4 separate regions of the Homo sapiens genome follow, and all the other regions are linked to region 1. Evidence: promoter capture Hi-C in 16 types of primary human blood cells and fetal thymus (Javierre and others, 2016). All regions are on one chromosome and are shown on one strand. Each heading gives the region's core, a stretch centred on a gene start or on the middle of the fragment in contact. The rest is flanking DNA. Distances are from core to core; before and after follow the strand shown.

Region 1 (3,322 bases), core at 397-2,896:
CATGAGTTTCTGCCATTTATATCTTTCCCTCCTATGAAATGCTGTTTATTCACTCATTTAAAATCATTTTATGTACCAGGTAAAGTGTTAGGTTCTGGTTATATAACAATAACCTAAGCAGTTCTAATCCATATCATCACGGACCTAAGAGTCAGAATCCATGTGCTCTCTTAAAGTTTAACAGACGAAACCACCTGAGTCTAGTCAATAAGTACATTCTAGCACACCACTTATGATTTGAGAATACTCATTCACTTACTTATTGCTTCCGCAAAATTTAATAAGACTCTACTATGTACCAAGCACTATTTTCAGTGATAGAAATACAACAAAGCACAAAACAAAGCTCACTGACTTCATGATATTAACCTTTTGGTTGGAGGGCAGAGAAAACAAAAAACATAAATGATATAAATTCTGATAGTGATAAATGCTGTTAAAAAATTAAACAGGTAAGAGAACAGAATGTTAGCATGATAGGTATGCAAGTTTAGAGAAAAATGTTTCAGGTTTTGGGGAAACCAAGTAGATATATATATATGCACAACTGTAGTTTGAAAATGAGTATGTTCCCATTGATCAAAAACTCTTTTAGGTGGAGTAAGGATTCTGTGTCTTTTCATTCATTCAGAAGCATTTGCTTGCCTAATCTACTTTATACATGTCACAATAAGAAAGCAATCATTAGAAGGAAAATGGAAGGTTTTAATCAGTCTTAAAACCTAAATATAAATGAAGAAAAACATTACAGGAAAAATGCTCTATTTCTCCATCTCTCCATTCCCCTCCCTCTCTCTCTTACACACACACACACACACACACACACACGACAATCAGAAGAGCATCTGGCCATTCATTCATGGTACCCAGATTTGTGCTTCTTGGTCTTTAACAGGTTTCTCAGGATGTCCCCACATTCAAACACTCTGTGTGGCATCTATCCTGATCTTCAACTTAGAAAATATACTCATTATTCCTTGTAAGTAGAACTCTGCACAGCTGCATACAGAAGAGCGTCTCGGCAGGGAACAGTGCAGGTTCACAAAGGGGCCGATAAAACATATAATTTTAGCTTTGGTAATTGCCCTTGAAGATTACAATAAGAGGAGGAAAATAAGGGCCAAAGAAACAAAAGATTTGCCCGTGATTTGATAGCTGGTTTCGTCACATATTATGTTGCTTATCCCACAGAATGTGGGAATCCCAGAAAGCGCCCCGTTTAAATTTAGACCGTATTTTTAGCAGGGTCCCTTTAACAGAGATTGCGGGAACCTGGGAAGGAACTGAACTGGGCTAACCAAACCGGTCGAAATGAGCACAGGGATTAGATTAGAGCACAGAAATTCTGGCTAGCAGTCTGAGAAAGGGGGCCAAAGCCAGCCCAGAGAAAAGGGAGGTTGCCTGGGCCAAAGGCTTTCTGACAGGAGACACAATAGGGTCGTACCTCTGGGTCTTACCTTCACTGAGGTTTCTACCCGACAGGTTTAACTGGCCGCTCTTCCTCGCTGCCTTCAACAGCCCTTGGGGTACCGAGGTACCGCAGTCTCTTCCACCTGCTTTGAAACCAGCGCGGAGATCCTGCCCCGCTATCCGCTTCAGGCGCGACATGTTCAAAGTCCTAGGTCCAGAAGCTGCAGCCCCACCCGTGACGCTTAAAGGTGGCGCCGTTGGGATGCCCCGCTCCTTTCGTGAGCGCGCGCTCTGGGCGCTGGGCTCGCGGCCTCGCGCTGGGCCTTCACTCTCTGCGGCGCAGTCCAGATGTCGTCAGCACCAGCGCCTGGGCTGGAGGACAGAGAAGCCTTTTCCGTTGCCGGTGCCGGCCTAGCGTCCTGGAATTACTTCAATCAAGTAAGTGCGTTTAACGGGCTTAAGAGGGGCTTTCGGGTTTATTGTTTGCACTGTTACTGCGACTCCAACCTTCTCCTCTGTGCTTCCACCGTGGCGAGGGTGTGGGGAAAGAGAACCCTCTCTTCTCCCCTCTCCTAGTCTGAACGTGGGCCTTGACTAAAACTTGAGATCTGGGCGCGGTCGGCAGCGTTTCTGGACCCCAGCCTGTGTTTGTCGCTTGTGGTGGTGGCGCCAGACCTCTGGCGTACGGAGTAAAAGAAATTTTCTGTTCTTAAGGCTTGTACTCTGACACCATTCTCGTTGTATTGAGGGTATATAGCTTACCCAGCAAAGGAGGTAATGTGAAATGGAAGGACTGGCAACATAGAAGACAAAAACAAAAATCCTTAAAATTTAATAAATGTTCTGTGTATCAGACAGTTTAGGGAGACAAGTAGTGGTACATGCTTTAGTGAAGCTCAGACAGCTTGGATTTTTGAGCCCTAAAAAGCAAGTTCAAATCTCAGCTGCTTCTTTACTTTAGAAACTGTTAACTTTAGGCAGTTTACTCAACCGCTTTTAAAGCTCATTCCTTTTTTTCATTACTTTGGGGATAATTCCTACCGCATAAGGTTTTTGAAATAAGTGAAGATAAAAACTAGAATCTTGAGCTCTCGGTGAGTCCAGAATAATAGCAAATGAAAATTTTGTTCAATGTAAGTCGGTGTTTCCTAGGAAATTAAAATTTTCATCTGAAATGTACAACTTCTTGATTCAACAAGTAATTATTAAGATTAATCCTGCCTAGTATGTGTACTATCCTGGGTGCTAGACTTTTCTTTTGCCTGAAATGATTTTGTTTTAAAAGCATATGCCAGGGAATACCATTCTAACCCCCATCAAGTCTACTGAGGATTGGTAGAATAGTTGAAAGCTAGGATGAAGGCCCTTTGATCAATTCTTCATCACGCACTTTTACCTGAGTCCAGGTTATTGCTACCTGTAAAATTCGGTTTTTAACTCTACCCTTTTTGTTCTTATTTCTGTGGAGTCCTTTACACTAATATCGAACAAGAGAAAGTTACCAATAGTTGTTACCCTACTAAAAAAGCAAAGAGTGGATTTTTGTCTTTTTTTTTTTTTTTTTTTTGAGACAAAGTCTGGTCTGTCGCCTAGGCTGGAATGCAGTGGCGTGATCCCGGCTCACTGCAACCTCCGCCTCCCAGGTTCAAGTGATTCTCCTGCCTCAGCCTCTCCAGTAGCTGGGATTATAGCCGCGCACCACCACACCTGGCTAATTTTTATATTTTTTAGTAGAGACGGAGTTTCGCCATGTTGGTCAGGCTGGTCTCGAACTCCCAGCCTCAAGCGATCCGCCCAGTTCGGCCTCCCAAAGTGCTGGGATTACAGGTGTCAGTCGCCGTGCCCAGCCTGAGTTTTAAAGGAAAACGACCGTAGCAGCTTTTGCAACGTTATTAATGAGGTCCCTGGTCAG
Region 2 (3,322 bases), core at 297-2,796, 900 kb after region 1:
GTGCCTCCATCCTGCTTATCTGTATCTGGTGTAGATTTTCCTGTTATCCCTTTGGTATCTGGTGTAGAATTTCCTGTTATCCCTCAAATGTTAATTAGGAGCTATATTCTTGCCACGTAAGAATTATATGTCTATCGAGTTCATATACCTTAGCATTAGACAACAACTGAAATTCTCAAAATTATCAGGTTAATGTATCACCTAGAACTAGTCAATTTTCTGGAATTAATTTTATGTCATAAGGCTTACTTTTTATCTTTTCATGTGCTTTAATAATACTTGAACCAATATTACCTCCTATGTGAACAGAGTTCAGGTGAATAGCCAGTGAGCTTCTATTACAGATCTATTTTAGAATTGACTTCTTTGTGGCACCAATAAAATCTTCAACTACAGCATGATTATGTTGTCAAAAAGTTGATTTTCATCATAGTCTGAATATTGATTCATTGAATATGTAACTTTTTTCTTGAGAGAAATAAAATTATTTCCCTGGATACGTTACATAGATCATCAGTATGTATGAAGTTTTGAAGAGGTTGGTCATTGGTAAATATACTAAAGAAAATAATCCGAAACAAACCATACAGATAAAAGACAATTCTTACATTAGTTTAACATTAAATGTCCCTTAGTACATAGATGAAAGACTAAAATGCAGGACAATATAAGCATAATATGTGTTGATTTATGAGCAGCATGCAGCTCAATAATCCATTGGTGTCTACTGACTAAGATCAGTGTAAGGGCAAACACGGCTCTCTTTTGAGTGCTGTTCTAGGCTCTTCTGGTGAAAAGATATTTTTAGGCAACACTGTGCAATTCAGAGAACGTGAAAGGTAATGAGGTATTCCTCTCAGCGCAATGTACCATGTCCATTCTATCATTGAAAGAGTAATGACATGAATCAGAAAAGCCAAACACATATACATTTAAATCCCTGAAAAATGATGTGACTATGAAGTTACTGAATTACTTGGATGTTTTGTCAAAGTTTACTTCCTGGCTAAATAGTGGGCCTCTCCATATTCAACCATGTCACATACTTATTTAAATATGTCACATATTTAATTAAACTTTCTTGCTTAAATGGGAGTTGGAGAATGATCTGGCCAACATGAACCAAGTTGAGAAGGGGTTATTAATTAGGTTCCAGGATGGTGAAGAGTATGCAGTTCTTACCCAGGACCATGGGAATGCAGTGAGCCAAAGGGATTGGCAAATCTGTCAGAAGAAAGAAAGAAGAAATCTGTCAGAGGAAAGAAAGAACATTAGATTTTCTGGGCCAAAAATTAAGCCAAAAAACTTTTAGCAAAGAAATAAGATATGAAAAGAGCAAAAGCCTTTCGGGAGTGAATAGGTGGTTCTTTGACAATGTCCTAATTTGACAATGGTAGAGGATCAGATAACTGAGGTTTTTCTTTAGGGAACAGTGGGCATATGAGTGAAAGGAGTTGGTTGGCTAGAAGGGCCAAGAGCTGAGCAGATTACGATTCATTATTCTTTCCTACGATAAACATTACCTAGTATTCTATCATTAGACACAATTAAAATGTGTAAAAGCAAAAAAGTCACCATCATAATCAATTATTTAGTTTTTCTAAAGGATTTCAAACAATGTTTGATTGATTTTTAAATGCTGAATTGGATGATTTTGGGATTCAATTAGTAATACAGAGGAACAGACTCTCAATGGGAGACAAATTTCAAGGTTATCCAATGGCACTTGAGGCAGGAATTCTTTCTATATTGTTCAAGTTGAGCGAAAGTCTGGTATTAAGTTCTGTGTTGACAGTACACATGCTGCTTTATGAGGCACTCCATTTCATTGTGTATAGCCTTATGTCTGTAATTTTTATTTTTGGCTTCCTAGAAAACATTCCTAATTTCTACCAGCATTTTGGTTTATGTTTGTAGAAAAATGTCTTCTTAATCTGATACAGTCTAGTGAAACTATTAATGATGGCCCTTACCTCACCCTAAACAAAGGTACCAACCTGACCCCGGGTAGTCCTGTAGTCAGTCCTTTTCTCAAATTTGAATCTTGAACACGGTGAAACAAACGTTCAGCATTGTTTCATTTCCAGCAGTGGTTGGTGCCCTGACCAGACTATTTTCCCCCTGAGCCTCTGACCGTCTTTCCTGTTTTCTCATTCTCTGAATGAATCTGCCCTAGTTTTTGTTGTTTCCAAACTGATTCTCCAGCTTCCTGTCAATACTGTGCATGCCAGTCAACTGGGGAGACTGTTAGAAATGAAGATTCTTAGACCTCATGTTGCTTAAAGTATTTAGCAGTAGTAGTATGAGGTGGGGTACAGGAAGTTAAATTTACAACACACTCCGAGTAACACTGATGCAGTCAAAAATATGAGCTGACTTTTGGGAACACTGTACAATGTACATTTGTACTTTAATAGAACATTTCTGAAAGTGGAAAAGTCTTCCTGACTGACTCACTAACTGGATAAATTCCAGTTCTTTCATTCATTCAATAATTCAACAAACAGACATTGAGCATCTACCCTGTGACAGGCATCAACGATGAGCCTTGGAGTAAATAATATCATTAAGATTATTTGAGGCTGGGCGTACCAGCTTGCTTTTGGCGGGGCACTGAGTCATTCAAAAGAGCAAGGAATACATATCTAGATATCGATGTCTTATATTCAGTAAATATCACTAATAATCTTTAAAAGAAATGGACAAGCATTTATCTCTATATTTCCATATCCCTCATATTCCTCAAAAGTGTCATAATAAAGAGATTTCTAATTACACTCTAGGCATGTTCCTTTGTGTATGTAAAAATAGTTCTAGGCAATACCAGAAATCTCAGTTCTAATTAATTAGTCTTAGGCATGATAATAAAATTCAGCCATACCAATTTTCTGCCAGGTTTAATGAAACAAGGTTTTCTTCTTTCATTTTGCTACTCAATTGCCTCACAATTACATGTACAATGTACAATAAAAATAACTGTATAGGTGAACAGGATATGAAAATGTTCAGAAATTCTTCCTTTCAACTAACAAAAATAACTTTTTATTTTTTTTTTTGAGACGGGCTCTCGCTCTGTCGCCCAGGCTGGAGTGCAGTGGCGCGATCTCGGCTCACTGCAAGCTCCGCCTCCCAGGTTCACACCATTCTCCTGCCTCAGCCTCCCAAGTAGCTGGGGCTACAGGCGCCCGCCACCACACCTGGCTAATTTTTTGTATTTTTAGTTGAGATGAGGTTTCACCGTGTTAGCCAGGATGGTCTCGATCTCCTGACTTCGTGATCTGCCTGCCTTGGCCTGTAAATGCTGGGATTACAGGCGTGAGCC
Region 3 (3,322 bases), core at 456-2,955, 880 kb after region 1:
TAATTAATACAAATAGGTGACTCCAAGAAACTAGAAAAAATTTTTATGTTCACCGATTGGACAATAAGTAGCTATGTTTCCTTACCTTGACTCTCTTCAGCTTTTCCTTACCTTGACTCTTTAACAGCAAATCACTCCATCTCACATGGGTCCATGACTTTTATAATTATTTTTGTAATCAGATGATTGCTATAGATAGATTCTCTCTCTCCTCGAACATTTCCTCAGGGCTTTTAATATCTACAGGCAACCCTGGACAGAAGATAGTGTTGCTAAAGTGTTCAAGTTTCTATCTCTCTTCCATTCAAGAAATTCCCACCTGGAGCCTCTTAGCCCTGTCTTCAAATTTCCAGACTCTAGTTGCTCTGGCTTGAGTCAGGTGTGCACCTCTATCCAATCAGCTATGTCAGTTTTTCAGGATCATGGTGTAATGTATAGACCTGACTGCTAGGAGGCACTCCTGTGGGACAAGGGGAGTAAAGGGTAGTGCCCACAGAAAAGAAAAAGCAGTTGGTTCTTGTATTGGTTTTCTAGTGCCAAGTAACAAATTACCACAACCTTAGAAGCTTAAAGTAACATGTATTTGTTATCTCTCAGTTTCTGTGGATGAGAAGTCTGGGCATAGCTTAATTGGATTATCTGCTTAGGGTTTCACTAGGCAGCAATCAAGGTGCCAAGTGGAGCTGCAATTTCATCTGAAGCTTTTAGGCATATTCAGGTTGTTAGTGGAATTTAGTTCCCTGAAACTTTACATCAGAGGTCCCTATTTTCTTGGGAGATGTTGGCCAGGGGGTTCTCTCAGCTTCTAGAGACTGCCCTCAGGTCCTAATTACATGGCCATCTCAAAACGGAGTTTACTTCTCCAAAGCCAGCAGGAGAATTTCTCTCCAGTTGGCTGCTGCTGCTGCCACTACCATTACTACTATATACTACTACTATAACTATTACTGCTATAAAGTCTTATATAATATAATGTAATCAGAGGAGAAATGGTTCCGTCCCCTTTGCCATATAACATAAACTAATCAAAGGAGTGCCATCTCATTGTATTCACAGGTCCTGCCCACACTCACAGAGAGGGTATAATACAGGGCATGTACACCAGGACACAGAAATCTTGGGAGCCATCTTGAAATTCTGCCAACCATGGCTTCTGAATAGGCAAATACTCCAAAGGCCACTACAGTTGTTGCTTTCTCAAATCATTGAGACATCCTTCTTAAACTGATGGTCTATATTTTTCTCTTTAACTTTATTTTAAGAATGGCATAGTTTATGGGATGTGTGTGAGTATTCATGGACACTCAAGTCTCACATACCCCAAATATACATCTCTAAGAATATTTTGTCACACAGATTTCTTTCAAATTTAAAATAAATGTGCTGAAAGAAATGACAAGACGTTATTAAACATTGTTTACTTAGTACGTGTTATGATTTGACATTCTTAGAAATTCACTACATTAAAAAATGTGAATACATGTGCGCACACACACACACACACACACACAACAACAACTCTCCTACAACTTAAATGCTCTTTTCATTCTGTAGAAACCATTAATAGGGAATTTTTGCCAGTTGGTGTTTCAGAGTCCTTTATAAATTAATTATAGTATTTACCAGCCATGTGGGAGTGAGAAGTCTAATTAGGTCAAGGAGGCTGGCCCTGCTGGAGACTGAGGGCAAAAGCATATATACGGTGTCAGTCACAAATCTACTGCAGTTCTTTCTTGAGCACGTATGTTTAAATAAAAAACTGGAACAATTCAAATGCTACATACAAAGTTATGAGAAAAATCATATCACAATTAGAATAAAAGCAGGTTGAAGTTTGCCATCTATCTATAGCAAAAATAAAATGTTTTTACTGACGAAGGATTTCACACACCTGTGCCATGCCACAGCAGGTATGGCATGTTCAATTCTGACAACACACTCATTTATTTATTTGTCCATTCATTCATTGACTTACCCACTCAACAGGTACAGGACTAGATATTGCAGCTATAAAGAAGATTATGTCACAGTCTCTTTGTTTAAGGAGCGCACAGAGTGCCGATGCATATGGATGTGTAAATAGTGAGAAAACTGTGTTGTAAGTATAGTATAGGTATAATCAGAGGATATTATGGGTGTTCCCAGGAAGAATGACTCCCTCAGTTCATGGGTGGGGAAGGGAAATGCATTAAGGATACTTCATCACAAGTAACAGAAACCAAAGCTGGTTAAACTTTATCCTTAAAGGACTGGGATAAGAGCGAGGCAAATAACACAAACAGGGCATGACATTTAAGGAGGCAGTCTCAGGTGCTGAGCCTGGAGTTATCACTTGAGAATGAGCGCCTCCTTAAATGTTGAACCCTAGGCATCTGGCTCACCCTAGTCCCCATCCTGTTATTCCTTCAGTCTTACCTTCTTCAAAAACTCTCATCCCCCACAGTGAAAAACAGTTGAAAAACTGTTTACATCCTAGTGTAAATAACTAAAAACAGTTTAAAGTGTCCTTTTTTTTTTTTTTTTTTGAGACGGAGTCTGGCTGGAGTGCAATGGCACGATCTCGGCTCACTGCAACCTCCACCTCTCCACCTCCTGGGGTCAAGCGATTCTTCTGCTTCAGCCTCCCGAGTAACTGGGGTTATAGGCATGCACCGCTACTCCCAGCTAATTTTTGTATTTTTAGTAGAGATGGGGTTTCACCACGTTGGCCAAGCTTGTCTGGAACTCCTGATCTCAAGCGATGCACTCATCTTGGCCTCCCAAAGTGCTAGGATTACAGGCGTGAGCCACCGCACCCTGCCTAAAGTTTACATTCTTATAAAGGGATTTTCAGTTAAATCAAGTATTAAACCATGAAAGAAAAACTCAAATGTTTACAGGGTTCAGGCAGTAACATAAATCAATGATGCAGGCCTGTGTAAAACACTAGGGAATGAGGGAAAATGTGATGAGCTGTTCAAAGCCTTTCAAATTCAACCTAAACATAAATGTTGTCTTGGCCAAATAAAAAGTTCTTTTGGATTATCAGGTCAGTAGGATAGTTGTTTGTGTACCCTGCCTGTTAAAGAAATTCATTTGCTATGTTAGAACTTTAGATTTCTGTAAGAAAATGGTTATGAGGACATAAGCCTAGATGGAAAACCCTTGGGATATTCTTTCTCCTCTTAAGGGTTCATTGTGAGGCCCTACTCAGCATTCTTTTGCATTTCTTTCCTGCGGGCTCCAAGATTTGGCATAGTTGTTTCCATTCTTTGCTGTCACTATTTGTTCTTTTGCTGTGATCTGTGAGTCACAGAACATAGCTGAAGAGTTTTTCACAGTT
Region 4 (3,322 bases), core at 498-2,997, 870 kb after region 1:
TGACACAAGGGAGACATGGTTCGTACAAATTTTAAAACTCACAAAATTCATTAATCTAATTTACAACTATAATTTGTCCCTTATAATAATACCCTGTAGAAAAAGATCACTATATTTTTACCAAAAAATTACTAGTTATAGCCCCACTTTGTTAAGCTTTCAGGCTTTGTAGTGCTCAATTAACATATATCTAATTGTTATACACTAATATCTAGTATTTTATTCCTAAATATGATTAAAATTCATTGCCCATGCCATCACTTAACTGTGATTAAGGTTTTTCAAGAGGACACTGTTAAATTTAAATCACTGCTTTCACTCACCTAAAATTTTATTTTTATTGTTAACTATAAAATCAGAGATTACATATTTTACATCAACAAACAATATTCAAGTACACCAAAAGAGTTTTAGTTTACGCCTGGACTTCTCAAAATTATGAGCATGAAGTCAACAGAACTAATATGGCTGAATTTGCTCCGTTATTCACAATACTGATATCAAAGCAAACTATTAAAAACATTATGTAATAAGCAATGATTTAATGCCTAGAAAATTTCTGTGCTAGCCTTTAACATCTTGAATGAAAATACAGATCTCCCCTTTACTTAATTTCTATATGTAAGCTATCTCTTTAGATTAATTAAATATAAGTGTATATAAAAATTTAATTCAGTTTTTAAGTCTATTTTAGTCAAAAGCATGAGGCTAAAATAGGTTAAGGAAGTTTCATGCTAAGACTTTACTTTTCTAAAAATACTGGACAACAACTGTATGGTACTAAGCTGAAAAATTATTTTAAAAGTTGATTTGAATTAAATTTTTAAAATAAAAAGGAAAGTTTATTTCGTCAAGAAAAACAAAATTTATAAATAAAAAAGTTAGATACTGACATTTTGACTGGTGTTACCCTTGACCTGTACCCGTTTACCTGGACCTAGACCTTGAACTTGAGGGGGAGGATGAGCGTGATGAAGATCGTGAATGTGAAGATCGAGACTTTGAGCGACTTCGTCTATTAGATTTCTTTTTATTACTATCTTCTTCTTCACTGGCATCAAGATTATATTTTGAGAGATCAGCGTCATCTTCATCCTCATCCTAACAAAAATTCAATTATAATTAGACATTTAGATATTAGTGTTACCTACCAGGAAAGATAAAACAGTTAGGTGTACTGAGCACCTCCATATGCATATATCACAGGTATCTCAGCAAATTAATTCTGAATTCTAAAATTCACCTACTAAACTCATCTCAAATAGAGACTTGACAACTTTGTCTCAGGTATTGCACAGACATAAACCTGGAGGCCATACACACTTTTTCTGTCACACTTATGCATCACCCAAGAATTTTCAAGTCCACCTCCTTAAAAGTCCTTGAAATCACCATTTTTAGTCTTAGACACTCTGTTCCTTATTCTCTAGCATATTATAGTAACCTCTTAGCTGGTCTCCTCAAATCTGAAGATCCATTCTGCCTCTCTAGTATCTCAATATACTGACAGTCATCACTCTGAAACACAGGACAGATAAACACATCTCACTTTTTTCTTAAAAACTTCAAAACTGGCTTATTATTTCTTTAGTTGCATTCCAAGACCTCTTATGATCAGGCTCTAAGGTACCCTTAACATGGCATAAAACTTACACTCTGGCCTGACAGAACAAGTATCACCAGACCTGAAATGTGTGCTGTCCCCCTCATCTCATTCTCCCCTCTGCTCTAACTATACTGGCCTATGTATGGTATTTTTGAAGGCTGCTGGCTTATCTCCTATTTAGGGAACCCGTATTTGCTGTTCTCTGCCTAAATGTGCTCTCACCTCGGCTCTTATTGCTGGCTCCTTCCTATCATTCAAGTTTCAGCTCAAACTTCACCTCCTTAGACATTATCCATCGGCAAAACCAAAGTTGCTTTTAAACTGTTATCACATCATGTGTCTTCATAACGTTACTGCTATCAAAATTACCTATTTATATATTTCCTCCTCTAGAACTGTGTAAGAGAAAACTGGTTCTGTTTCGGTCACCACTGTATCTCCAGAACAGTAGTGTTCCAAGTACAAATAGTACTTGGCAGAGTGGAAATCCAAAACCTTTGTGAGAACAAATGAAAACACAGAATATATTTTCACCAAGTGTCTGAGGCTGTCAAAAGCATTCATGTTATGGTATAACTCCAATAAGACAAAAGGGAAATAGGACAAGAAAATTGTTCACCTCATCTAACTTATATTTAGAAAGATCTTCATCCTCATCCTCTTCTTCTCCCTCTGATTCTTTATCTTCAACTTCCTTTAATATAGATGCAGGACCAACTGCTTTCCCTCTGTATTTTTTCTTTTTACGTCCAAACTAGAGAAAAACAATTTCAAAATGCTTGTCAGCTGATAATGCATTAAACTTAATACATTTTCTAAAAAATTATTTTAGATATTTATGATTTCCTGAAAATGATCAGTTGCTGAAGACTCAAATTGCACTTAAAAAAAAGTTTGTTTTCCTTTGCATTTAAGAATTTTTTCTGTTTTTCTAATTTATATTCAACCTGAACACCAAAATATAGCTTACCTCATCATATTCACCATCAGATTCTTCTCTTTCTATATATTCAACATTTTCTCTTTCATTAAAACCACCACCATATCCTTAAAAAAGAGGGCACAAATTGTTACCCTATGACAATTGATTTAAATAATAAACACATCATGCCCAAATCTCCAGACAACAAAAAACATCTAATCAACAATGGCTGCCTACCCATCTAATAAATTACTAGTCTTTAGAAAGCATATTAGAAATCACCACAGAAAATACAGAGAACTTAGTTGTAACGTCATATGGCTGTACTTCTAGCTCTTTTCAATTCCAAATTGCCCTACATGACTTATTTAATTCATAGAAAGTATTGGTGGAAAACATCTCAAACTTCTGCTATAACCAAGTTTTAAAGGACTTTCCTCTACAGTTAATCGTAATTCTTCTGGGAAGGGTGGGCTCAGTAACAACCAAGCATTAAATTCCACTGTTTACCAACTGCAAATAGTCTGAAATCTTCTGATATTCTGAAATTTTGCTACTTTAAAATGTAGCAGGCCTTATTAGAGCTTGGAAAATTCCTAATTACACAGACAAACACAATAACACAATAAAGGCCATCCTTTGGCCCTGGTTTAATTGGTTTTAACACATAGGTAAAAGTCACACAGGTTCTCTGAAGTAGCCAGTAAATTTTGAAATTAAATGATTCTATTAAAAAGTAGTTGAGATTAGCAAACCACTATTCTCTCATGTCACAACCAATGTATACAATTCAA

Evidence for each region. Contacts are between HindIII fragments. The CHiCAGO score rates a contact against its expected background, and 5 or more counts as called.
Region 2: a contact is called between a fragment that was not itself captured here and the fragment with the promoter of LRRC40 in region 1, in 1 of 17 cell types (total CD4 T cells). The highest score is 5.0, in total CD4 T cells.
Region 3: a fragment that was not itself captured here is called in contact with the fragment with the promoter of LRRC40 in region 1 in 10 of 17 cell types (total CD8 T cells, naive CD8 T cells, naive B cells and 7 more); the score reaches 23.1 in total CD8 T cells.
Region 4: a contact is called between a fragment that was not itself captured here and the fragment with the promoter of LRRC40 in region 1, in 14 of 17 cell types (total CD8 T cells, naive CD8 T cells, activated CD4 T cells and 11 more). The highest score is 33.6, in total CD8 T cells.

The regions. Positions count from the first base shown.
Region 1 is chr1:70,203,933-70,207,254 of GRCh38, forward strand. It overlaps LRRC40 (leucine rich repeat containing 40), which reads right to left and starts at 1,647. Exons shown (of 15, transcript NM_017768.5): 1 at 1,458-1,647. The coding sequence starts at 1,608. It also overlaps a transcript of SRSF11 not described here. RefSeq lists enhancers at 1,241-1,300, 1,561-1,870. The HindIII fragment of the contact is 8,465 bases long and covers 1-3,322 here.
Region 2 is chr1:71,104,675-71,107,996 of GRCh38, forward strand. The region is part of intron 2 of ZRANB2-DT (ZRANB2 divergent transcript); the gene reads left to right. Among named protein-coding and RNA genes, the nearest start is that of ZRANB2-DT, 25 kb to the left of the region's middle. The HindIII fragment of the contact is 3,922 bases long and covers 1-3,322 here.
Region 3 is chr1:71,086,833-71,090,154 of GRCh38, forward strand. All of the region lies in intron 1 of ZRANB2-DT (ZRANB2 divergent transcript), which reads left to right. LOC105378795 (a long non-coding RNA gene) reads right to left here and starts at 2,124. Exons shown (of 3, transcript XR_001737669.2): 1 at 1,976-2,124; 2 at 112-252. The HindIII fragment of the contact is 2,012 bases long and covers 700-2,711 here.
Region 4 is chr1:71,069,896-71,073,217 of GRCh38, forward strand. ZRANB2 (zinc finger RANBP2-type containing 2) reads right to left here. Exons shown (of 10, transcript NM_203350.3): 5 at 2,577-2,653; 6 at 2,226-2,360; 7 at 932-1,101. Among named protein-coding and RNA genes, the nearest start is that of MIR186, 3.8 kb to the left of the region's middle. The HindIII fragment of the contact is 3,187 bases long and covers 155-3,322 here.